Linked DNA regions of Homo sapiens: all the other regions are linked to region 7. The links are contacts of gene promoters, found by promoter capture Hi-C in blood cells and fetal thymus (Javierre and others, 2016). All regions are on one chromosome and are shown on one strand. Each heading gives the region's core, a stretch centred on a gene start or on the middle of the fragment in contact. The rest is flanking DNA. Distances are from core to core; before and after follow the strand shown. Region 1 overlaps LOC105375336 (a long non-coding RNA gene). Region 2 holds the start of ASL (argininosuccinate lyase). Region 3 has its middle 22 kb from the start of ASL. Region 4 overlaps CRCP (CGRP receptor component). Region 5 has its middle 5.8 kb from the start of CRCP. Region 6 holds the start of TPST1 (tyrosylprotein sulfotransferase 1). Region 7 holds the start of TMEM248 (transmembrane protein 248).

Region 1 (3,624 bases), core at 284-2,783, 890 kb after region 7:
CTGTACTCTAGCCTGGGAGACAGCCTTTGGGACCCTGTCCCCTAAAAAAAGCTCCCAGAGTGGAAGACAGCAAAAAGAAAGAAACCGCCTCCCTTCCACATCCCCCCAAAAGAAAAGAAGGTAGTAGAATAAACAGAGTTGGCCATATTCTTTCCTCTCTAAAGGCTCAGTCTCAAGTGGTTGCAGCTTAGAACAGGAAGGAAATGGTTGAATGGTTTTTGGCCAAGCCTTTGGCTTTTAGGAGCCTCCTTGTCCAGTTTGGACTTTGCTAGGCGTTTGGGTGTTTTATCCATTGGGGAAACATTGCATTCATTGATCTCATGCCACTATTTCTGAAAGGAACAGCAGATGAGAGGGGTCGCATTGTATTTAGTGATGGTGTGTGAGCCTGCATTTTCTTCACTTCTGTGGTAGAATCTCTAAAACAGGAATGAGACTGAGATTCCCCCCTGCCTCCAGCACTCTAATGCATGCATGTTTTATCCTTGTGGGGAAAGTTTGCTTCTAAAAATCCATAGCATTTTTTCCTCCCCTTTTTTTGGTAAACTCTGTCTTATCACTTGCTTCAAAATTTTTCTTTTCCAGAAAGAAATTATTATGTTAGATTTTTTTTTTTTTTTTTTTTTTGAGATTGAGTCTCACTCTGTCGCCCAGGCTGGAGTGCAGTGGCATGATCTCGCCTCACTGCAAGCTCCACCTCCCGGGCTCATGCCATTCTTCTGCCTCAGCCTCCCGGGTAGCTGGGACTACAGGCGCCCGCCACCACGCCCGGCTAATTTTTTTTGTATTTTTAGTAGAGATGGGGTTTCACCGTGTTAGCCAGGATGGTGTCGATCTCCTGACCTCGTGATCCGCCTGCCTTGGCCTCCCAAAGTGCTGGGATTAAAGGTGTGCACCACTGCACCTGGCCTATGTTAGATTTTTATACTAGAGAAGCAGAATTCTTTTTTAACAAAATATTTGTTTTAAGAAAATTTGCTTTCAAATAGTATATTTTTGAGATCAGAGGAGATTAGTGATGTGTATATTCATAGGAAATGTTTGAAATTGTTTTTTTTTTTTTGAGATGGAGTCTTGCTCTGTTGCCCAGGCTGGAGTGCAGTGGCGTGATCTCAGCAACCTGCAACCTCTGCCTCCCAGGTTCACGCCATTCTCTTGCCTCAGCCTCAAGAGTAGCTGGGACTACAGGTGCCTGCCACCACGCCTGGCTAATTTTTTGTATTTTTAGTAGAGATGAGGTTTCACCATTTTAGCCAGGATGGTCTTGATCTCCTGACCTCATGATCCGCCCGCCTCAGCCTCCCAAAGTGCTGGGATTACAGGCATGAGGCACCGCACCTGGCCATATTTGAAATATTTTAGGTAAATTAATGAATTTGGATTATTTGGCTTATATAAAAGAGCATTTTTTTAATGTCATATGCCTCTGGGACTCATATTTGCTCAAATCCAAGAATTGGAAGCTGCGTAATGGGCGGGTGAAAGGAAGTACTACAGTTTCCTGTTTATCCTTCAAAACCACTGACCTTAGATAGATATATTTCTCAAATTTATTCATAAACTTCTTTTGTGTATCTTCTCCTGGGTGTTTCATTTACTAACTGATCTGAAAGAGCAGCGTAAAGAAAGTGGAAAGAATAAACACAGCTCTGGGCAACAGAACTTGAACACTATCACCTATGAAGTAAGGCTGGGCTTCTGCCAGGCCTACCTAAAGTACCATTGAGGGAGGGGGGTTTATTCTCCCAACGACTGGCTGCTGAAATCAAGATCGCCTTTTATCTGATTTGAATACTTTTACTGTAACCTGATTTTTATTCTGTTTATAAAAGTGGGAGGAGTTTGGTCAAGTGTAGTGTTTAGCCAGCTACAAAGTTAGAAGGAATAGTCTAAAAGATTGCTCTCACTTCTCCTTGAAAGGGAATCACTGCTCACTGCAGCCTCAACCTCCCAGGCTCAAGTGGTGCTCCGAGCTCAGCTTCCCAAGTAGCTGGGAATATGGGTATGCACTGCCATGCCTGGCTAATTTTTTTGTTGTTGTCCAGGGTGGTCTTGAATCCCTGGGCTCAAGGGATCTTCTCACCGCATCTTTCCAAAGTGCTGGGGACTTAGACACTTAAGGCTATTGTTTATTTTTCAAGTTTCAGATTCTTCCCAAAATATGTAATTATAATTCCTCTCAAATTATATCTGTATTCTTCTTCAAAAGCCACAAATTCTGTGTAATCATGAGAAAATATCAGACCATTGCAAATCAATTTTAAAAAAACACCTTTTATTTTGAAATCATTTTTCTTTTTTTTTTTTGGAGATGGAGTCTCCCTCTTGTTGCCCAGGCTGGAGTGCAATAGCACGATCTTGGCTCACCACAACCTCCGCCTACCAGGTTTAAGTGATTGTCCCGCCTCAGACTCCTGAGTAGCTGGGATTACAGGCATGCGCCACCTCGCCTGACTAATTTTGTATTTTTAGTAGAGATGGGGTTTCTCCATGTTAGTCAGGCTGGTATCGAACTCCCAACCTCAGGTGATCCGCCGATCTTGGGCTCCCAAAGTGCTCGAATTATAGGTGTGAGCCACTGCGCCCAGCCATTTTTCTCTTACATAAAAGTTGTAGAGACAGGTGCTGGGAGTTCTTGTGTACCCTTCCCATAGTTTTCTCCGATGTTAACATCTTACATAACCATGGTCTATACCATGAAAAACCAAGAAATTAACATTGGTACATACTATTAAACTAAGCTAAAATTTTATTTGAATACCTTGTTTTCCCACTGCTGTTTTCTGAGTTCCAGGATTCAGTTCAGGATACCATTTTTTTTTTTTTTTTTTTTTTTTTTTTTTTGAGAGGGAGTCTCTCTCGCTCTGTCGCCCAGGCTGGAGTGCAGTGTCATGATCTCGGCTCACTGCAAGCTCCGCCTCCCAGGTTCACGCCATTCTCCTGCCTCAGCCTCCCGATAGTAGCTGGGACTACAGGCGCCCGCCACCACACCTGGCTAATTTTTTGTATTTTTAGTAGAGACGGGGTTTCACCGTGTTAGCCAGGATGGCCTCAATCTCCTGACCTTGTGATCCACCTGCCTCGGCCTCCCAAAGTGCTGGGATTACAGGTGTGAGCCACCGCACCTGGCTCAGGATACCATTTTATATTTAGTTAACATGTTCCCATAATGTCATTTGTTCTGTGTCCTTACTCTTCCTTTGTCTTCCTTGACACTTGTGAAGGGCTGGTCAAGTATTTTGTAGAACGTCCCTTGATTTGTGATTGTCTGACGTTTTCTTATGATTACACAGAACCTGTGGCTTTTGAGGAAGAGTACCACAGAGGTGATCTCCCCTTCTCGTGTCCTGATATCTCAGGGTACATGATATCGATGTTTCTTTCTTTTTTTTTTTTTTTTTTGAGATGGAGTCTCTCTCTGTTTCCCAGGCTGGAGTGCAGTGGCACAGTTTTGGCTCACTGCAACCTTCACCTCCTGGATTCATTCCATTCTCCTGCCTCAGCCTCCCGAGTGGCTGGGACTACAGGTGCCGGCCACCATGCCCGGCTAATTTTTTGTATTTTTTTAGTAGAGACGGGGTTTCACCGTGTTAGCCAGGATGGTCTCAATCTCCTGACCTCGTG
Region 2 (3,529 bases), core at 1,005-3,504, 850 kb after region 7:
CTTCCTAGGTAATTTTCAAAATTGCTTCCTGGAGGGCGATTCCCAGCAGGGTGGCCCGAGGCAGGTCTGGCGCCCCCACTCTCTCCTTTGGAGGCTAGGAGGACCGGAGTCCCCGAGGTCCCACTCACCTCCGAGGCCATGTTGGGCGGTTCCTCGTCGTCCGGAAGCTTCGGTCCTCCGGGTCTGGAAGACAAGACCGGACTGACGACCTCCTTGGCCAGCAGGGTCCCCCGGGCCGGGCTGGCTCCGAGTTCTGGGCACTGCGCTTGAGGGAGCGCAGCCCTTGGGGACGCGGACGTGAGCGCGCGCCACGGTGCTCGGCGTCCTCCACGCCCGTCCCGCCCATCCGGCCGCCGCGCACTCACCTCCGCCTGGCCGCACGGATAGTGTCGCGCCCGCCACTGGCCAGGGCTTTTCTGGCCGGGATGGCGTCAGCAGCCGCCGGTCCTGTCCCCACCCCTGGCGACGGCCGCGCCAATAGGAGGCCGCCCGGCGGGGTGGGCGTTGCCTCCATCCTCCAATCCTGGCCGTGGGCGGGGATACCTCCCGCTGAGCTGGAGGCTAAGCGGCCCCGGGGCGGGGAAGCGGGCGGGGAAAGGGTTGGGGGGACCCCGACGGGGAAGGGGCCTGGGCTGGGGTTGAGGAGGGTAGTGCGCTGGCGTTCGTGCTGTGGTCAGCAGACACGCAGGGGACTGGAGACTCGGGCCAGGGGTAGAGGCTATGACATCAGGCCCGGGCCTGGCAGGTTCACAAGATATATAAGGTGAAATGGCATGTTCGCTCATTCACTCATTCATTCATTCATTCAACAAACACGTACCAGGCACCTCTATGTGCCAGGTACAGAGAAAGGCATCAAGGAAAAAGGAAGGACCATCAGAAATGAAGCCTGTGCCAGGCGCGGTGGCTCACAGCTGTAATCCCAGCACTTTGGGAGGCCGAGGTGGGAGGATCGCTTGAGGCTACGAGTTGGAGACCAGCCTGGGCAATACAACAAGATCCCGTCTCTACAAAAAAATTAATAATAATAAAAAAAAAGCCGGGCGTGGTGGTGCACGCCTGCAGTCCTAGCTACTCAGGAGGCTGAGGCGGGAGGAGCACTTGAGCCCAGGAGTTCGAAGCTGCAGTGAGCTATTGTGCCACGGCACTCCAGCCTGACTCCTCTAAAAAAGAAAAGAAACGCGGCCGGAGGCCGGGCGCGGTGGCTCACGCCTGTAATCCCAGCACTTTGGAAGGCCGAGGCGGGTGGATCACGAGGTCAGGAGTTTGAGACCAGCCTGGCCAAGGTGGTGAAACCCCGTCTCTACTAAGAATACAAAAATTAGCCGGGCACGGTGGCGGGTGCCTGCAATCCCAGCGACTCCGGAGGCTGAGGCAGGAGAATCTCTTGAACCCGGGAGGCGGAGATTGCAGTGAGCTGAGATGGTGCCATTGCACTCCAGCCTGGGTGACAGAGCAAGATTCTGTCTCAAAAAAAAAAAAAAAAAAAAAAAGAAAGAAAGAAAGAAAGAAAGAAAAGAAAAGAAAAAAGAAACGCAGCCGGGCACAGTGGCTTACGCCTTTAATCCCAGCACTTTGAGAGGCTGAGGCGGGCGGATCACCTGAGGTCAGGAATTCGAGATGAGCCTGGCTGACATGGTGAAACCTTGTCTCTATTAGCCGGGTGTGGTGGTGGGTGCCTGTAGTCCCAGCTACTCCGACAGCTGAGGCAGGAGAATCACTTGAACCAGGGAGGTGGAGGCTGCAGTGAGCTGAGACGGCACCACTGCACTGCAGCCTGGGCGACAGTGAGACTCTTGTCTCGAAAAAAAAAAAAAAAAAAGAAAGAAAGAAAGAAAAAGAAAAAGAGAAGAGAAAACAAAGAAAGAAACGAAACAAAAGAAATGAAGCCTGACTTCAAGAAGTTCCAACATAGCATGGAGGAGGTGTGCAGGGAGCACAGGCGTTGGGGAGGGGGGCTATGTTGGGTACTCAGGGAAGAGGTCCTTGATCTGATTAATTAATTATTCAACCAAAATGTCAGGCTGGATTCTAGGCACTGGAAGTACCCTGAAGGGGCTTCTAATGAACCTGTCTTCTGCATTGGGTCTTGGAAGATGGGGGGAATTTGCCCAGGGAAGAAGGGGAGAACATTCCAGGCAGAGGGAGAAGTCTGGACAAAAAATGTGACTGGCCTGCTTTAAGAACAGGAAATCATCCAAGTGGCTGTAACTATAACAAAAGGTAGGGAGGAGAGGTGGAAGGAGTTTGGGAGAAGGCTGTGAAGAGTCTTCAATGTCAAGAGAGGGAGTTTGTTCTTGGTCCTATAGGTCATAGGAAACCCCGATCGATTTTAAAATCAGAGGAGCCAAATTTATTTTATTTTATTTTATTTTTATTTATTTTTTTGAGATGGAGTTTCGCTCTTATTGCCCAGGCTAGAGTGCAATGGCACGGTCCCAGCTCACTGCAACCTCTGCCTCCCAGGTTCAAGCGATTCTCCTGCCTCAGCCTTCCAAGTAGCTGGGGTTACAGGCATGCACCACCACGCCTGGCTAATTTTATATTTTTAGTAGAGATGGGGTCTCTCCATGTTGGCCAGGCTGTTCTTGAACTCCTGACCTCAGGTGATCTGCCCGCCTCAGCCTCCCAAAGTGCTGGGATACAGGGGTGAGCCACTGCGCCCGGCTGAAACCCCATGTTAAAAAAGAAAGAAAGGAAGGAAGGAAGATAAATCTAGCTATAGTATTGAGGATGGAATGGAGGGAGAAGAAGAGACCAGTGGCTGGAATGTTTTGTGATTTGAAGGTGTTTAGCCCTCACTCAACTCAAGAGTGGAATTACTTGGAGTTCCCAGAATGCACCTGACTGTTTCAAGCCTTCCTAAATGCTCTTCCCTGTGCCTGGGATGCCCTTCCCTCAGTGTCGGTCTTGCCACCTCCCATTCGTCCATCAGTATTTTTTTTTTTTTTGAGACGGAGTCTCGCTCTGTCCCCCAGGCTGGAGTGCAGTGGCACAATCTCGGCTCAATGCAAGCTCCACCTCCTGGGTTCACGCCATTCTCCTGCCTCAGCCTCCTGAGTAGCTGGGACTACAGGCGCCCACCACCACGCCCAGCTAATTTTTTGTATTTTCAGTAGAGATGGGGTTTCATCGTGTTAGCCAGGATGGTCTCAATCTCCTGACCTCGTGATCCACCCGCCTTGGCCTCTGAAAGTGCTGGGATTACAGGCGTGAGCCACCGCGCCTGGCCTTGTCCATCAGTATTCTAGCCAAACATCATCAATGTCAGGTAGACTCCCAGCTGATCCAGGCATCCAACTCTGGGCTCCCATGTGATCCTGAGTATACGGGCATTTAGCAATCTTTTCCTGATTTGGGAGCACTGTAGTAGTGCCTTCTGGGCCTTCTCCACCACCCAAGTGGTGAGCTCCTTGCAAGCAAAGCCTCATCTGACACATCTGTGTGCCCTGACTCCCAGCCCTCTCCTGTCTTCTCCCACAGAAGCCCTAGAACTGGGCTGCAGCTGACCACTGGGAGGACAGGAAAG
Region 3 (3,565 bases), core at 330-2,829, 870 kb after region 7:
TTTTATACTAAGTGTTCAATAAATAATAGTTGCTATGATTAATACATAAGGTCCTAGTGGGTCAAGATAAAACTGGTTTGAAATAATAACAGTTAGGACTGCTATGTTTTTGTTTTCGAGATGGAGTCTCAGTCTGTTGCCCAGGCTGGAGTGCAGTGGCACAATCTTGGCTTATTGAAACCTCCATCTCCCAGGTTCAAGCAATTCTCTACCCTCAGCCTCCTGAGTAGCTGGGATTACACCAGTGTACACCACTACACCTGGCTAATTTTTTTATTTTTAGTAGAGACGGGGCTTCACCATGGTGGCTAGGCTGGTCTCGAACTCCTGACCTCAGGTGATCCCACCGCCTCGCCCTCCCAAAGTGCCGGGATTACAGAAGTGAGCCACCGTGCCTGGCCAGGACTGCTATGTTTTCAATGTTTTTTATGTGCAAAGTACTATATGTGTCTATCTGTTGTCTTTTGCTGTGTAAGGAGACATTCCAGATTGTTAAACAACAACTGTCAGAATTATTACCTCTGATAATTCAGGGTGTTGAATTACATAGGATGAGGTCTTGCCTAGGGTTCCTCCTATGGTTACAGTACTGGCTGAGGCTGGGGTCATTTCATTTTCATTTTTATTTTTCAAGATGGAGTCTTGCTCTGTTGCCCAGGCTGGAGTGCAGTGGCTTGATCATGGCTCACTACAACTTCTGCCTCCTGGGTTCAAGCAATTCTGCCTTAGCCCCCCGAGTAGCTGGGATTACAGGCGCGCACCACCATGTGGAGTCATTTCAAAAGCTTCATCAGTCACATGTCTTGTATTTAGGCAGGGAAGACTCGAATGGCTGAGGGCTGGAACAGAGGACATCTCACAGTATAACCGTGTGGTCTCTTTATGCAATCCCTCCAGCATGGTGGCTTGGAGGCAGCTGGGCTTCTTATAGCCTGGCTCTGTGCTTCAACGGCCCATATTCCCAGAGAGAGCCACGTGGGAGCTGCATCAACTTTTCTGATGCAGCCTCAGCCGTCATGCAGGTCTCTTCCACTGCATTCTACTCCTTAGAAGTGAGTCAGGGCTGGATGTGGTGGCTCACACCTGTAATCCCAGCACTTTAGAAGGCGGAGGTGGGCAGGTTGCCTGAGGTCAGGAGTTCAAGACCAGTCTGGCCAACATGGTGAAACATCATCTCTACTAAAAAATACAAAAATTAGCTGGGAGTAGTCGTAGGCACCTGTTATTCCAGCTACTTGGGACCCTGAGACAGGAGAATTTCTTGAACCCGAAAGGCAGAGGTTGCAGGGAGCTCAGACCGCGCCATTGCCCTCCAGCCTGGACAACAAGAGCATTACTCTGTCTCAAAAAACAATAAATAAATAAACAAATAAATAAATAAATAAATAAATAAAATAAAAATCAGCTGGGTGTGGTGGTGAGCACCTATGGTCCCAGCTACTCAGGAGGCTAAGGTGGGAGGATCACCAGAGCCCAGGAGGTTGAGGCTGCAGTGAGCTGTGATTGCACCACTGAACTCCAGCCTGGGAAACAGAGTGAGATACTGTCTCAAAAGAAAAGGAAGTGAGTCACGAAAGCCAGACCATGTTCAAGGTGAGGAGGAATTAGACTCCACTCCATGAGGGGTGTCAGAGAATTTGCAGACATGGGCTGGGCGCGATGGCTCACGCCTGTAATCCCAGCACTTTAGGAGGCCAAGGTGGGCGGATCACAAGGTCAGGAGTTTGAGACCAGCCTGAGCAACATGGTGAAACCCCTGTCTCTACTAAAAATACAAAAATTAGCTGGGCTTGGTGGTGGGCGCCTGTAATCCCAGCCAGTCGGGAGACTGAGGCAGGAGAATCGCTTCAACCCCAAGAGGTGGAGGTTGTGGCGAGCCAAGATCACACCACTGCACTCCAGCCTGGGTGACAGAGAGAGACTCCGTCTCAAAAAAAAGAAATTAGCAGACATGTTTTAGAACCACTGTGTGTGTATGATCACATTTCATTCTTTTAGTGTTACCAAAGCAGTAGAGTTCAGCCTAGCTCCAGCTGTTGGCCGCACAGAAAGCCAATCATTGAGACAGTGATTATTGCCAAGGAAGATTTTAATTGGGTGCTGCAGCTGAGGAGATGGGAGATCAGTCTCAAATCCATCTCCCTGACTACTAAAATTAGGGGTTTATACAGCAGGGAAGAAATGCAACTATGTGTGGGAATACAGGAACTCAGGAGGGGTAAGGAAGCAATCATGATGAATGAGGGGTCCGGAGTCTCATTGTCAGGATGCCATGACCTGGTGAGTTTCAGTTCTTTGATAAACTTTGAGAGGCCTGGGGATCCTTTCCTGAGGAAGGAACTCAGGTAAAATAAAATGTAAGTTTCAAGCTTTATGACCGAAAGTGTCAATTTCTTTTTGTTTATTTATTTCTTTTTTCTTTTCTTTTTTTTTCTTTTTTTGGAGACAGAGTTTCGCTCTGTCACCCAGGCTGGAGTGCAGTGGTGTGATCTCAACTCACTGCAGCCTCTGTTTCCCAGGTTCAAGGAATTTTCGTACCTCAGCTTCCTGTGTAGCTGGGATTACAGACTCCTACCCCCACGCCCAGCTAATGTTTGTATTTTTGGTAGACACGGGATGTCACCATGTTGGCCAGGCTGGTCTTGAACTCCTGACCTCAGGTGACCTGCCCGCCCTGGCCTCCCACAGTGCTGGGATTACACGTGTGAGCCACCCACCTGGCCAGGACTTGTTTTCTTAATCCCTGTGCTACAGAAATTATACTAGACTAAAATATAAAGGGTTTTTGTTTTGTTTTGTTTTTGTTTTGTTTTGAGACATAGTGTTGCTCTGTCACCCAGGCTGGAGTGCAGAAGCACAGTCTCGGGTCACTGCAACCTCCACCTCCCAGGTTCAAGTGATTCTCCTGCCTCAGCCTCCCAAGTAGCTGGGATTACAGGAAACCACCACCACACCTGACTATTTTTTGTATTTTTAGCAGAGATGGGGTTTCACCATGTTGGCCAGGTTGGTCTCAAACTCCTGACCTCTGGTGATCTGCTCGCCCTGGGCTCCCAAAGTGCTGGGATTACAGGTGTGAGCCACTGTGTCCGGCCGGGATTTATTAATAAGCACTTTTTTTTTTTTTGAGATGGAGGTTCACTCTTGTTGCCCAAGCTGGAATGCAGTGGCACAATTTCAGCTCACTGCAACCTCCACCTTCTGGGTTCAAGTGATTCTCCTGCCTCAGCCTCCCGAGTAGCTGGGATTATAGGCATAAGCCACCATGCCCTGCTAATTTTCTGTATTTTTAGTAAAACGGGGGTTTCACCATGTTAGCAAGGCTGGTGTCGAACTCCTGACCTCAGGTGATCCGCCCACTTTGGCCTCCCAAAGTGCTGTGATTACAGGCGTGAGCCACTGTAATTTTTTTTTTTTTTTTTTTTTTTTTTGAGATGGAGTCTTGCTCTGTCACCCAGGCTGGAGTGCAGTGGCATGATCTCAGCTCACTGCAGCCTCCACCTCCCAGGTTCAAGTGATTCTTCTGCCTCAGCCTCCTGAGTAGCTGGGATTACAGGCAAGTGCC
Region 4 (3,481 bases), core at 649-3,148, 790 kb after region 7:
GTACTGGGATTACAGGCGTGAGACACCGCGCCCGGCCGCTAATTTATTTTTTTAAGAGCTGGGGGTCTTGCTAGGTTTCCCAGGCTGAGCTCTAACTCATAGCCTCAAGCAATCTTCTCTCCTTGGCCTTCCCAAGTGCTGAGATTACAGGCGTGAGACACTGCACTTAACCTACTACCTTCTAGACCTCCTGAGTCTTTCTGAGTTTAGACTCTAGCACATGGAAAATTCACAGTCAAGGTATAAATGGTTCTTTCTACACCTGGAGTGAGCCTATCAGATGGTTTTGCTAGTGCCAAATAGGAGGCAAAAATGCTGGAATATCTCCTCTCTTACCAACCTTTTTCCTTCTTTTCCTTTCTCCAGCAATCCCACCCTAAGCCCAAAAAATTCTACATTTCTTAATTTCTACTATTCAGAAAGGTGAGTCAACTAAACTCACTCTCTTTTTTTATTTTTTAAGTAGGGATGGGGTTTCACCATGTTGGCCAGGATGGTCTCAATCTCCTGACCTCGTGATCCGCTGGCCTTGGCCTTCCAAAGTGCTGGGATTATGGGCATGAGCCACTGTGCTCGGCTTAAACTCACTTTCAAAATAAGGATGTTAATACCCATAAGACTATTTGCAATGTATAAAAGCATTATAAATATATAAATATATCAAAGGTGATAATTAGGAAAAATCATAAAAATTTTAATGGGAAATTCTGCAGACAGAAACAGCCTTAAAATAGATGCTTCTATCCTATGACTACATCCCAAATGATGATTTGGAATCGTTGAGATTTAGAGAAGGTTGCCCCCTCTAAAATAGAGTCTTCCCAGCTTTCCTGAAGTACTATGTATAACGTGTCAAGCTTACACTATTCCAAGGTCCACCAGATGTTGCCATGTCTTATTTTAAAGTGGAAAATCCAAATAAATTCAGTCATTTCTTTTTTCTTTTTCTTTCTTTCTTTCTTTTTTTTTTTTTTGAGACAGAGCCTTGGTCTATTGCCCAGGCTGGAGTGCAGTGGCACATCTTAGTTCACTGCAACCTCCGCCTCCTGGGTTCAAGTGACCCTCCTGCCTCAGCTGGGATCCGAAGTAGCTGGGACTACAGGCATGTGCCACCACACCCAGCTAATTTTTGTATTTTTTAGTAGAGACTGGGTTTCACCATGTTGGCCAGGCTAGTTTTGAACTCCTGACCTCAAGTGATCCAGCCTCAGCCTCCCAAAGTGCTGGGATTACAGGCGTGAACCACTGCACCCAGCCTGAATTCAGTCATTTCTAACCAAAATCAATTTAACAATCTCAGGAGCGAAGGGCAAACTATCAGAGAGGAAAATGTAACAATCCAATTTACCTCGTAGTTACTGAGAAGCGCAGAATTGGCATCCTTCCTGAAAAAGAAAAGTAAGCTATCATCAGTCTGGGCTCACACCCCTTTCTGGGTATCAAATTCTGTAAAAGAATTCCTGTCAAGATACAGTAGTCCACTTTTTGAATTTAGGGACTACAACCTAAAATTGAAACTGAGAAATGTCCTAAGTCCAACATGGTTTAGCTAGCTGTGGGCAATTTCAGAGTAGACTTGGGAACAAAGTGCTGTCCCATCCCACAGCCATGTCCTCTCCCCATTACTATCTGCCTCCCATCAGCTATTGACATCTTGGGCTGCCACGTCCTCCTGCTGAATCAACAGAAATGGCCCACTTAACACCAATGTCACCACTGGGAATTCCAGCCATGGGCAAGTATCCTGCCAAATATCTGCCATGCTCCCAGGGTGTTCACCACCTACGTCAACTCAACAGGTACAGTCAGGGTGGCAAGCAGTGGCCAAAAGCCTGGTTCCCTGTGTAACAGTTAATCCAGGCAATATGCCATCTTTCCTGAGTGAAGAAACACAACGATGTGACATATATTAAATCACAATCGATCCACTCTACAATAGCATATCAGAAAGCATTGTTTTCAGCAGTCTGGAGGCAGTGGAGTATGACAAAGAACATAGTTTTGAAATCAGATTTGGGTTCATGTTCTAGCTCTGCCACTTATGTGCTGTGAGAATTTTAGTTAAGTTAATTACTCCTTAAGTTTTCCTTCTAAAATAAAAATGGGATGAAACTAGTATCTAAAAGTATGGCCTGGATTCTAAATCCAGCTCCTGAATTCTTTGGCCATGTGAATCTAGGCAAGTTACTTAATCTCATTATGCTTACATTTCCTATCTATGAAACGGCAACTATAGTATCAACCTTGTAAGACTGTTCACAGGGTTCACTGGAAACATGTAAAGTACTTGGAACATAGTAAGTGCTCAATAAGCACCAACATTATCACTACTACTATCTGGGCAACTACCACTACCACCAGCAACTCCTACCTCATCAAACTGTTATGATAAAATGAGACAACAAATTTTAAAAGTTTAGAATAGTTCTTGGTACTTGTATTAACATCTCCATAATGGAAGGCTATTATTTGTAAAAGATATTATCCCAGTTAATTCTCACTGAAAACCCTGTGATGTAGGAGCTATTCGTATGATTCCTACTCTGCAGAGATAAAGCACAAGACTCAGAAATTAAGTAACTTGCTCAAGGTCACACAGTAAGAAGTCTAAATAAAGTGGAAGGTAACTATGGAACTGTGGGAAATGAGACTGAACTGGATGAATGGAAACTGGTCATGCAGAATCCTTAAAAATCAGGTAGAGGGGTCTGCACTTGATTTGTAATGTGCAACAGAGACCTCTGTATGTTCTTAAACCAGGAGTGTGGCGAGATGATCCAAATGATGACCCAAGACTTCAAAAGCATGGGCCAGATAGGTGACTTCCGAGTCAATAAATAAAGCAAAACTAACAGTGGTTCACAAAGAGATAGACCTCGGCCTTAGGTCATCAGCACAGTGATGTCAGCACTATAATCAAATCAGCTCTGTGAAGCTTACCAAATGCTACCAGTGATTCAAGCTACGATTTCACAAAAGTGCTGCTTTGCCCAAATGACCACAAACACACTGAAGTCACAAAGAGTATCATATTTGAAAGGAATCTAACACAGGAAGGACAATGCATAATTAGTGCATGTGACAGAGTTCATTTAAAATTGAAAATGACAAATCAAACCACATGTCATCTTTGCCTGCTTAATCAGGAAATCTGCCCACTGGCTTCCTCCTATCTTTGCTTGAAATTGAGTTATAACTCCCTGTGCTCTCCAAAATATGAGGCATTAAAACATCCCTTCCTGGAATACTTGACTCGAGAAAAAATATGAATGTTTTTTCTCTTCAGGGCCAATGGATCCATCGCAGGTGCACTGTTACAACTTTATTTCCAAATAATGGCCCCTTCTCTGTCATTCAGAATATTCCACGTCGTGGGAAATTTGTCCTTGGCCATTCCAAGTTACTACCCCACTAAACAAGTCAATAGTGTAATGCAAGAATCCAAAGAACACCCTCTGCCTCTTCTAGAACGAATATAAAG
Region 5 (3,580 bases), core at 701-3,200, 810 kb after region 7:
CATGCCTGTCATCCCATCATTTCGGGAGGCCAAGGCGGGTGGATCACTTGAGTCCAAGAGTTCAAGACCAGCCTGGCCAACATGGTGAAACCTCATCTCTACTGAAAATACAAAAATTAGCCGGGCATGGTGGCAGGCGCCTGTAATCCCAGCTACTCAGGAGACTGAGGTAGGAGAACCACTTGAGCCCGGGAAGCGGAGGTTGCAGTGAGCCGAGTAAACATTCTTTTTACTGTCTGCACCTCTGGTCCTGGATAGTCGCTGATCACCATGACAATTAAGGGTATGGACCTTAAGAAGAAAAGATTATCCTGGATTTTCTATGTGGTATCAACATAATCACATGGATCATTAAAAGCATAAAATCATTCTCACCTGATGTCAGAGCCCAAGGGAGGTGTGGCTAGGGAAGGGAAGAATGATCTGAGAGATGCAATATTCCTGCCTTTGAAGATGGAGGAAGGGGCCATGAGCCAAGGAATGTAGGTAACTGTAGAAGCTGGAAAAGGCAAGAAAACAGATTCTCCTGTGAAGCTTCCAGAAAGGACTGCAGCCCAGCTGGGTGCCACGGCTCACACCGGTAATCCCATCACTTTGGGAGCCCAAGGCAGGCGGATTACTTGAGGTCAGGAGTTTGAGATCAGCCTAGCCAACATGGTGAAACACTGTCTCTACTAAAAATTTAAAAAATTAGCTGGGTGTGGTGGCAGGCGCCTGTAATCCCAGCAACTTGGGAGGCTGAGGTAGGAGAATTGCTTGAACCCAGGAGGGGTAGGTTGCAGTGAGCCAAGATCGTGCACTCCAGGCTGGGCAACAGAGCGAGACTCTGACTCAAAAAAAAAGGACTGCAGCCCTACCAACACCTTGATTTTAACCCAGTGAGACTGATTTAGGACTTCTGTATTACTCCATTCTCACACTTCTATAAAGAAATACCTGAAGGCCGGGCATGGTGGCTCATGTCTGTAATCCCAGCACTTTGGGAGGCTGAGGCAGGCAGATCATGAGGTCAGGCGTTTAAGACCAGCCTGGCCAACATGGTGAAACCCCGTCTCTACTAAAAAATACAAAAAAAATTAGCTGGGCGTGGTGGCGCACACCTGTAATCCCAGCTACTGGGGAGGCTGAGGCAGGAGAATCTCTTCACCCAGGAGGCAGAGTTTGCAGTGAGCTGAGATTGCACCACTGCACTCCAGCCTGGGCAACACAGCAAGACTCTGTCTTAAAAAAAAAAAAAAAGGAATACCTGAGACTAAAAAAGAAAAAAGAAATACCTGAGACTAGATAATTTATAAAGAAAGGTGGTTTGGCTGGGCGTGGCGGCTCACGCCTATAATCCCAGCACTTTTGGAGGCCAAGGTGGGAGGATCACGAGGTCAGGAGATCAAGACCATCCTGTCAGTGAAAACCTGTCTCTACTAAAAAATACAAAAAATTAGCCAGGCGTGGTGGTGGGTGCCTGTAGTCCCAGCTACTTGGGAGGCTGAGGCAGGAGAAAGGTGTGAACCCAGGAGGTGGAGCTTGCAGTGAGCCGAGATTCTGCCACTGTACTCCAGCCTGGGCGACAGAGCAAGACTGTCTCAAAAAAAAAAAAAAAAAAAAAAAAAAAAGGTGGTTTAATCAGCTTACAGTTCCACAGGCTCTAGAGGAAGAAAGGCAGCATCTTCTTCTGGGGAGGACTCAGGGATCTTCTACTCATGACAAAGGTGAAGGGGAGCAGGACCAAGAGACGAGGGGAGGAGCTACACACTTATTATTATTATTACTTTATTTCTTTATTTTATTTTTGAGACAGAGTCTCGCTCTGTCACCCAGGCTGGAGTGCAAGAGTGCAGTGGCATGATCTTGGCTCATCACAACTTCCGCCTCCCAGTTTCAAGCAATTTTCCTGCCTCAGCCTCCTGAATATCTGGGATTTCAGGTGCCTGCCACCCTGCCCAGCTAATTTTTGTATTTTTAGTAGAGATGGGGGTTTCACTGTGTTGTTCAGGCGGGTCACGAACTCCTGACCTTGTGATCTGCCTGCCTTGGCCTCACAAAGTGCTGGGATTACAGGTGTGAGCCACCATGCCCAGCCCATGTCTGCAAATTCTCTGACACCCCTCATGGAGTGGAGTCTAACTCCTCCCCACCTTGAACATGGTCTAGCCTTCCTGACTTACTTCCTTTTCTTTTGAGACAGGATCTCACTGTGTATCCCAGGCTGGAGTGCAGTGGCGCAATCACGGCTCACTGCAGCCTTGACCTCCTGGGCTCTGGCGATCCTCCCACCTTAGCCTCCTGAGTAGCTGGGACCATAGGTGCTCACCACCACACCCAGCTGATTTTTTTTTTTTTTTTTTTTGAGATGGAGTAGCACTCCTGTTGCCCAGGCTGGAGGGCAATGGCGCGGTCTGAGCTCCCTGCAACCTCTGCCTCCTGGGTTCAAGCAATTCTCCTGTCTCAGGGTCCCAAGTAGCTGGAATTACAGGTGCCTGCCACCACGCCCAGCTAATTTTTGTATTTTTTTGTAGAGATGATGTTTCACCATGTTGGCCAGGCTGGTCTCAAACTCCTGACCTCAGGCGACCCGCCCACCTCGGCCTTCCAAAGTGCTGGGATTACAGGTGTGAGTCACTGCTCTCGGTAGATTTTTGTATTTTTTTGTAAAGATGGAGTTTCACCACCATTGCCCAGGCTGGTTTCGAACTCCTAGGCTCAAATGATTCTCCGATTTCAGCCTCCCAAAGTGCTGGGATTATATGTGAGAGTTACTGTGCCTGGCCAACTTACTTCTTCTAATTCTGTTTTTTTTTTTTGAGACAGAGCCTCCCTCTGTTTTCCAGGCTGGAGTGCAATGGCGCGATCTTGGCTCACTGCAGCCTCTGCCTCCCGGGTTCAAGCGATTCTCCTACCTCAGCCTCCCGAGTAGCTAGGATTGCAGGCATGTGCCACCACACCCAGCTAATTTTTGTATTTTTAGTAGAGATGAGGTTTCACCATGTTAGCCAGGCTGCTCTTGAACTCCTGACCTCACTCAGGTGATCTGCCCACCTCAGCCTCCCAAAGTGCTGGGATTATAGGCATGAGCCACCACGTCTGGCCCTGACTCACTTCTAAGAGGTAGAATGTGGTCAAAGAGACTGCATGACTGCTGAGGCTGCGTCAGAAAAGGTAATGCAGCTCCCACCTGGCTCTCTCTGGGGCTATGGGCCTTTGGAGCATGAAGCCAGCCTATAAGAAGCCCAGCTGCCTCCACACCACCATGCTGGAGGGATTACATGGAGAGATCACACAGTTATACTGTGAGATGTCCTGTCTGTCCCAGCCCTCAGCCATTCGAGTCTTCCCAGTCTAAATACAAGACGTGTGACTGAGGAAGCTTTTGAAATGATCCCACATGGTGGTGCATGCCTGTAATCCCAGCTGCTTGGGAGGCTGAGGGAGAGTTGCTTGAACCCAGGAGGCGGAGGTTGCTGTGACCAGGATCAAACCACTGCACTCCAGCCTGGGTGACAGAGCAAGACTCCATCTCGAACAATAAAAATAAAAATGAAGGCCGGGTTTGGTGGCATATGCCTCTAATCCCAGCACTTTGGGA
Region 6 (3,332 bases), core at 86-2,585, 720 kb after region 7:
ATGGGGATGGAGAGGGGATGGGGAGTAATTACACCGCAAAGCCTGCTGACTAGCAGCCTAAGAATCCTTTACAAAGGCAATTAACATAAAACAATACATGGCACGGATAGCAGAATTGTTTCTTCTTAATGAATGCAGTAATTGACCATTTAATCGCTTTACTGGAGTTCACCAATTTCTCCTGCCATCTCCCATACCATTCTTCAGGCAGAGTCAAATCCCTGTGGACACTGGACTTCTTGCTACCATCATCTGGAAAGTACAAAACGCCTGGAAGGAGGAAGAGGCTAACATGCGTGACCACCCACCATGTGCCAGGCCTACTGTGTGCTAGACTCTGGGCAAGGGACTTTACATGTTATGGGGTGCAGCTCATGTAAGGACGAATGAAGATATTACACTATGGATCTGAGCCAGGCGCAGTGGCTCACGCCTGTAATCCCAGCACTTTGGAGGCCGAGGCAGAAGGATAGCTTGAGGTCAGGAGTTCGAAGCCAGCCTGGGCAACATAGAGACTCCATCTCTCAAAAAAAAAAAAAAAAAAAGCGATGAATCCGGCATTGCAGAGAGTGGGAAAGTGTCTGGAGGTTTAAGAGTAAGAGAAGGAAGAGGAGATTGCGATGGTGGGTGGTCAAAGTGAGGGGAGAAGAGGCGAGTTGGGAAAGGAAGGTGCTTAGGAGCAAAAGGGCAAGACCCAGGGACACCTGGAGCGGGGCGGGCGACTGCCATGCAGACAGGACTACGTACAACGGGTAGGATGATGGGGCGATGAGCTCAAGAAGCGCAGCCGGGGTAGACGTGGGGGCAAATGTCCGATCCCGGCGAGACGAGGGTCTCATCCCAGGGGACTGCGGGGCTAGGACGTGGTCCCAGGGCTGCGAGAAGGGAGAGAAAGGGCAGAGGGGAGAGGCCCCGGCGGCCGGGGCGAAGCCGAGCCCGGGAAATGCCGGCGATGGGGGAAGGGGCGTGGGAGCAGGGGCCGGACGGGCCAGACCCGGGGCTCCGCGCTCGGGGGCGGGGTTGGACAACCGGGAGGCACCGAGCAGAAGGCGACAAGGGGCCAAGGGATGCCAGGACGGGGCACAGGGCCGGGTGTGAGGAGACGAGAGGGGAGCGGAGCCGCAGCGAGCGCCGCGTCCCCCTTACCTGGGATGAGTGAGGAGCCGCCGCGCCGCCTGGACGGCATCCTGGCCTCAGCCGCTGGTCCCACCGCCTTCGGTGGGGGGCCACTCGGGAGCCCGCCCTCACCGCCAAGCGCCGGCAGCTGCCAGCCTGGACCGGCCCCGCAGAGCAGCGCCGTTCCGACCCGCAACCGAAGCCGCCTCAGCAGCGTCTCCCGCGGTCGCCAACTCAGCGACAACCGCCAGGGTCCGGGGAGGTGGCGGGATCACACATCTGCTACGATTGGCTGAGCGGACGATGTGTCGGCTGCTCTGATTCGTGAGTTCCGGCCGGCTGCCCACCGAAGGAGGCGCGGCTGGGAATGGAGCTGGGTCCGGCAGGCGCCGAGGGGCGGGGGTCTGACGTCGCAGCCGGCCAGCGCCCCCACAGCCCTTCCCGTGCGCGCTCCCGAGGGGGCTTCCCGGCAGCCGCAGGCCTGGCCGGGTGGTTGCCCTAGCAACAGCGCGCGTGGCCTGGCTGCAGGGGAGCCGCGGGCAGGTGGCGGTCCTCACCGCCCCCACCCCCAACGTGGGTGTCCCAGAGGCCTTCATCAGTGAAACCCTAGGACAGGAGAAGAAAATGAGCTTTTCCTGATAATTCCTCTCCTCTGCTTCAGAGCCCACCTTTGCCCGCTGCTGGCAGAGAAGCTGTCATCTCCTCGGGGAGATAACGCGCAAATGCAAATAACGAACTCAAACACTATTTCATCCCCACGAGAGTGTAGACGTGCAATAGTCCCTCCCAACCACAGAGGTGGGGGGCTGACGCCCTAAAAGAAAGAAATGAAAACTAGGGAGAAAAAGGCAAAGAAGCAAAAGAAAGGTGGGGAAAGGGCAGATATTTCACAAAATGATCCATTCATTTTACAGTTTCTTCCTACAGACACATCTACACCAGGTTCTGTCAAAGCAATTATTTCTACTCCAGTGACATGGATTAGAGAAGGCATGAGTGCAGAATCTAACAGCTGTATTCAAAATTGCTCTCTGCTAGGCCAGGTGGGGTGGCTCATGCCTCTAATCACAGCACTTTGGGAAGCCAAAGCTGGTGAATCACCTGAGGTCAGGAGTTCGAGACCAGCCTGGCCAACATAGTGAAACCCCGTCCCTGCTAAAAATACAAAAATTAGCCGGGCATGGTGGCGGACGCCTGTCGTCCCAGCTACTGGGGAGGCTGTGGCAGGAGAATTGCTTGAACCCGGGAAGGTAACTACCTTCCTTTGCACACAGTATAATATTTTCAAAGTTCATCCATGTTGTAGCATGTATCGGCACTTCATTCCTTGTTACGGCCGAATAATAGTCCATTATACAGACATCACCTTTTTTTTTTTTGAAGAGTCTCACTCTGTCTCCCAGGCTGGAGTGGAGTTATGTGATCTTGGCTCACTGCAACCTCCACCTCCTGGGCTCAAGTGATTCTCATGCCTCCGCCTCCAAAGTAGCTAGAATTACATGCATGTGCCACCATGCCTGGCTAATTTTTATATTTTTAGTAGAGACGGGGTTTCATCAAGTTGCCCAGGCTGATCTTGAACTCCTGGCCTCAAGTGATCTGCCTGCCTTGGCCTCCCAAAGTGCTGGGATTACAGGCATGGGCCACCGTGCCTGGCTGGACATCATCTTTTATTTATCCATTAATCCATTGATGGACATCTGTTTCTACTTTTTTGGCTATTATACATGATGCTGCTATGAACATTTGTGTAGAAGTTTTTGTGTGTGGCCGGGTGCAGTGGCTCACGCCTGTAATCCCAGCAGTTTGAGAGGCCGAGGTGGGCGGATCACAAGGTCAGGAGATCGAGACCATCCTGGTTAACACGGTGAAACCCCGTCTCTACTAAAAATACAAAAATTTAGCCAGGCATGGTGGCTGGCGCCTGTAGTCCCAGCTACTCGGGAGGCAGAGGCAGGAGAATGGCGTGAACCCGGGAGGTGGAGGTTGCAGTGAGCCAAGATTGTGCCACTGCACTCCAGCCTGGGCAACAGAGTGAGACTCCGTCTCAAAAAAAAAAAAAAAAAGAAGTTTTTGTGTGGACCTCATTTGATCTTTACAGCAACTGTCTAAGGTACATATGATATCTCCTTCTACAGATAATCAGCTGACTGGGTGTGGTGGCTCACGCCTGTAATCCCAGCAGTTTGGGAAACCCAGGCAGGAGGGTCCCGTGA
Region 7 (3,583 bases), core at 492-2,991:
GGGAGGCCGAGGAGGATGGATCACCTGAGGTCAGGAGTTCAAGACCAGCCTGGCCAACATGGTGAAACCTTGTCTCTACTAAAAATACAAAAATTAGCTGGGCATGGTGGCGGGCACCTGTAATCCCAGCTACTAGGGAGGCTGAGGCAGGAGGATTGCTTGGACCTGGGAGGCAGAGGTTGCAGTGAGCAGAGATCGCACCACTGCACTCCAGCCTGGGCGACAAGAGTGAGACTCTGTCTCAAAAACATATATATATATAATCTACCTTTCCTCCTTGCCACAGATGCAGCTAGAGCCTAAACGGAGAAGGTGCCAGTTAACTAGCCTTTGGTGATTTTAGCATTGAGACTCCGGTGCTAGCAGTGATTCCAGTCCACCTGATTCAGGCCACAGGAATTCTCCCAGAATCTTCACTACAAGTTGAAACTCCAAATCCTTAATCCTAGAGAGTAAATGCACTTAGGGTCAATGCACACCTAAGTATACCTTAGGTGCGCGACAGGTCTATTTCCTGTCAGAATCCCTAGATGAAAAGAGGAAGTAGATGGACACCCTTATCGGTCAAGCGCTGATGGAACACTCATCTACAAATGAGATACACATGCTGAGACCCTAAGCTGACCCAAGCTGATGGTGCTATCGAGACAAACCACTTTATCACATATTCATCAGCAGTCTCGGAGTTTTTCTTCCCATTCCCTCCCGTAGCGGCTCACCTTTGAGGCAGGAAAGAAGCAGTTCAGGCGGAAGCCACAATCTTTACAAAGCAGGCTTCAGAGAAGCTCACCATTCATCAGCCAGTGAGGGCTGTCACCTGCTAGTTGAGAACTAAACTCAGACATCAGATTCTTCCACAAAGGCCTCCTCACCAGCTGTCCGATGGGTACGGCGTTCAAACGACTCAAAACAGCACAACAAGCCTGGTTTTATTTCTGATGGTCCCCATCAAGGGAACTGAAACTACATGCCTCTAGATTACCTTGCGATCACTCCTCATTTTATTAAAAACATGAAGAAAGAATCCACCCCATTCCGGATATTTACCAAGCTTGACACAGGGAACACCACTATGCCATTTAACTTTGTGGACGTACGTGAGTCTCTCCCTCCCACCTTTCTGAGATGTGTTTCACTGCCAAACGGAGAAGAAACGCAAACACTCCCCAAAGCCGAAAAATGGCAAACGACCAAGATGTTTCCCGTGCCAAATCCGAATTATCCAGGCCTCGGCTCCAGACGTGGGAAGTCCCGCCATCTCCAAGGCCGGCAGGGAACCCTGGCTCGGGGGACGCGAGTGGGCAAACCCCAGTGTGGGGGGACCAGGCCGAGGTCGGCCGATGCTGGGCGACCCCCGCCAGCAGTTGGGGCGGGGTCTGCACCCTGAGAAGCGGTGAAAAAAGCCGGCGGAGGAGCCGCTCCCGACCAGCACGCTCCCCGCTCCCGGCCCCGCGGGCAGCCCCGACTGGGCCCGACCCCAGCCCGCCCTCCAGCCCCGGCTCACCCCGCCCCGGCGGGCAGCTGCGCGCCCCGGGCCCAGCCGGGCCAGCTGCTCGGCGGACGCCCGCGGTCGCGCTGGGCTCACTCGTGGCGGCGCGTGGCGGGCCCGAGGCCGCTAGGCACCATCTTCTCCCCGCGCCGGGGGCAGCGTCTGGCTCCGCGGGGCCGACGCGAAGACCAGACGCCAACCGGGCTCCCGCCGCCGCCTCAGTTCGGGCTCCGGCAACCGCGGTTTCCGGGTGAAAAAAAAAAAAAAAACCACGCCACCTCCAACGCCGCCGTGACCTCCGACCCCGGGCGTCCGACGGTGGCGCGGCCGGGACAAGCTTCGTCAGAGGCAGGCGGCGGAGACCACGCTTCCGGGACGGGTAGCGTGCATGCGGACGTGCGTGGAGTGCGTGATGGACGTTTATGGGTCTGTGTGCCGGTCTGGTGTTGTGCGTGTGCGTGTGTGCGTAGTGCGTGTATGTGGCTTGTAGTGTGCATCGTGTACAACGGTGTGTGCAGTGAGTGCATGTATGTGCATCTGTGTGCGCGTGTGTGGTGTGTGATGGTATGGGTGTGTGCATGCGTAGATGTGTAGGGAGTGCGCACACGTGTGCATGCTCATGTGTGTGCTATGCGTGTGTCTGTTGATGTGCTTGTATATTAATCACTGCTGATAAACATGTAATTTTGGACCAGGCGCGGTGGCTCAGGCCTGTAATCTCAGCACTTTGGGAGGCCAAGGCAGGAGGATCGCTTGAGTCCTGGAGTTCCAGACCAGCCTGGGTAACATAGGGAGTCTCTGACTCTATTTATAAATAAAATAAAATGAAAATGAAAATTTTTAAAGTATAATTTTGTACAATCACTTTGCAAAGTAATTTGGCATTATGCAGTACACTTAAAGATATACACATCCTCTCTTGAGAATATATTACCCTGGAGAAACAGTTGCACCTATGCACAAGTAGACAAAATAATGCTCATAGCAACACCAATGTTTTTAGCAGCAGTATGACTCACTAAAAATTGGGGAGAAAAAGCAGATGTCCATACAGTCAAATGTAAAAACCAACTTTGATATATTCATGGTTTGGTTTGTTTTTGTAGAGACAGGGTCTCCCTATGTTACTCAAGCTGGTCTCGAACTACTGGACCCAAGTGATCCTCCCACCTCGGGAGGATCTGGGATTACAGGTGTGAGCTGCCACGCCTGGCCCATCTTCGTGTTTAATCGGGTACAAAAGACCAGTGAAAATTATTTAATACAGCTCACACAATTATGGTAGTCAATTGCAGACTATATTGGCAGGGACCAAATCACAAAATGGTACACTGCTACATATTTCCATTATGTAAAATTCAAAACAGGCAAGTTCATAACATATTGTTTAGAGATGCATACATAATTGTTTGAACTGACATGAAGCATGAGAAAAAGATGTATAAACTTCATGTTAAGTGTTAGGGGAATGGGATGGGGGAGGAGTACAGGGTGCTTTAAAGGTAATAAAGTTTTGTTGTTCTTGCTTTTGAGACAAGGTCTTGCTCTGTCACCCAAGCTGGAGTGCAGTCGCATGATCATGGCTCACTGCAGACTCGGCCTCCCAAGCTGAAGTGATCCTCCTGTCTCAGCCTCCTGAGTAGCTGGGACCACAGATGTGCACCATCGTGCCCAGCTAATTTTCATATTTTTCACAGAAATGGGGTTTCCCCCAAATTGCTCAGGCTGGTCTCAAACTCCTGGGCTCAAGTGATCCGCTCACTTCCACCTCCCAAAGTGCTGGGATTACAGGCATGAGCCACCACACCCAGCCATCTTTAACAAAAGTTTATCAGGTGAAGCCTGTAATGTTCAACACAATGGCTCAGTTCCTTCACTGAATACCCTCTTATTTCCATGATTCTTGCCCTCTTTTGTTATCTTGCACCATTTGAATTATCTTCCTTGTTGTAATGGGTGTGACATTATCTGCAAGTGCAGGCAGTATTGAATTGTGTATATAATGATGGAACCAAACTTCCTAATGAGATGTCCCTTACCAGGCTAGGACTGATAATGTAATTAAAGGAGCCCCACCACCAATGGCACCATATA

Evidence for each region. Contacts are between HindIII fragments. The CHiCAGO score rates a contact against its expected background, and 5 or more counts as called.
Region 1: a contact is called between a fragment that was not itself captured here and the fragment with the promoter of TMEM248 in region 7, in 5 of 17 cell types (fetal thymus, naive CD4 T cells, megakaryocytes and 2 more). The highest score is 8.4, in fetal thymus.
Region 2: a fragment that was not itself captured here is called in contact with the fragment with the promoter of TMEM248 in region 7 in 4 of 17 cell types (total B cells, monocytes, total CD8 T cells and 1 more); the score reaches 7.9 in total B cells.
Region 3: a contact is called between a fragment that was not itself captured here and the fragment with the promoter of TMEM248 in region 7, in 1 of 17 cell types (M0 macrophages). The highest score is 5.3, in M0 macrophages.
Region 4: a contact is called between a fragment that was not itself captured here and the fragment with the promoter of TMEM248 in region 7, in 1 of 17 cell types (total CD8 T cells). The highest score is 5.7, in total CD8 T cells.
Region 5: a fragment that was not itself captured here is called in contact with the fragment with the promoter of TMEM248 in region 7 in 1 of 17 cell types (total CD4 T cells); the score reaches 5.3 in total CD4 T cells.
Region 6: the fragment with the promoter of TPST1 here is called in contact with the fragment with the promoter of TMEM248 in region 7 in 13 of 17 cell types (total B cells, fetal thymus, naive CD4 T cells and 10 more); the score reaches 17.9 in total B cells.

Annotation. Positions count from the first base shown.
Region 1 is chr7:66,026,619-66,030,242 of GRCh38, reverse strand. All of the region lies in intron 3 of LOC105375336 (a long non-coding RNA gene), which reads left to right. It also overlaps the pseudogene LOC100419772. Among named protein-coding and RNA genes, the nearest start is that of GUSB, 46 kb to the right of the region's middle. The HindIII fragment of the contact is 4,637 bases long and covers 1-3,624 here.
Region 2 is chr7:66,072,693-66,076,221 of GRCh38, reverse strand. It overlaps ASL (argininosuccinate lyase), which reads right to left and starts at 403. Exons shown (of 17, transcript NM_000048.4): 1 at 366-403; 2 at 129-183. The coding sequence starts at 140. RefSeq lists an enhancer at 1-132 and a silencer at 233-762. The HindIII fragment of the contact is 4,170 bases long and covers 170-3,529 here.
Region 3 is chr7:66,051,732-66,055,296 of GRCh38, reverse strand. No RefSeq gene overlaps it. Among named protein-coding and RNA genes, the nearest start is that of ASL, 22 kb to the left of the region's middle. RefSeq lists a silencer at 3,298-3,476. The HindIII fragment of the contact is 1,584 bases long and covers 788-2,371 here.
Region 4 is chr7:66,125,608-66,129,088 of GRCh38, reverse strand. CRCP (CGRP receptor component) reads right to left here. Exons shown (of 6, transcript NM_014478.5): 2 at 1,349-1,385. Among named protein-coding and RNA genes, the nearest start is that of CRCP, 13 kb to the right of the region's middle. The HindIII fragment of the contact is 2,078 bases long and covers 860-2,937 here.
Region 5 is chr7:66,107,211-66,110,790 of GRCh38, reverse strand. No RefSeq gene overlaps it. Among named protein-coding and RNA genes, the nearest start is that of CRCP, 5.8 kb to the left of the region's middle. The HindIII fragment of the contact is 2,827 bases long and covers 537-3,363 here.
Region 6 is chr7:66,203,337-66,206,668 of GRCh38, reverse strand. TPST1 (tyrosylprotein sulfotransferase 1) reads right to left here and starts at 1,335. Exons shown (of 6, transcript NM_003596.4): 1 at 1,147-1,335. RefSeq lists silencers at 933-1,292, 1,443-1,712. The HindIII fragment of the contact is 8,515 bases long and covers 1-3,332 here.
Region 7 is chr7:66,919,383-66,922,965 of GRCh38, reverse strand. It overlaps TMEM248 (transmembrane protein 248), which reads right to left and starts at 1,741. Exons shown (of 7, transcript NM_017994.5): 1 at 1,505-1,741. RefSeq lists a silencer at 1,450-1,699. The HindIII fragment of the contact is 775 bases long and covers 1,054-1,828 here.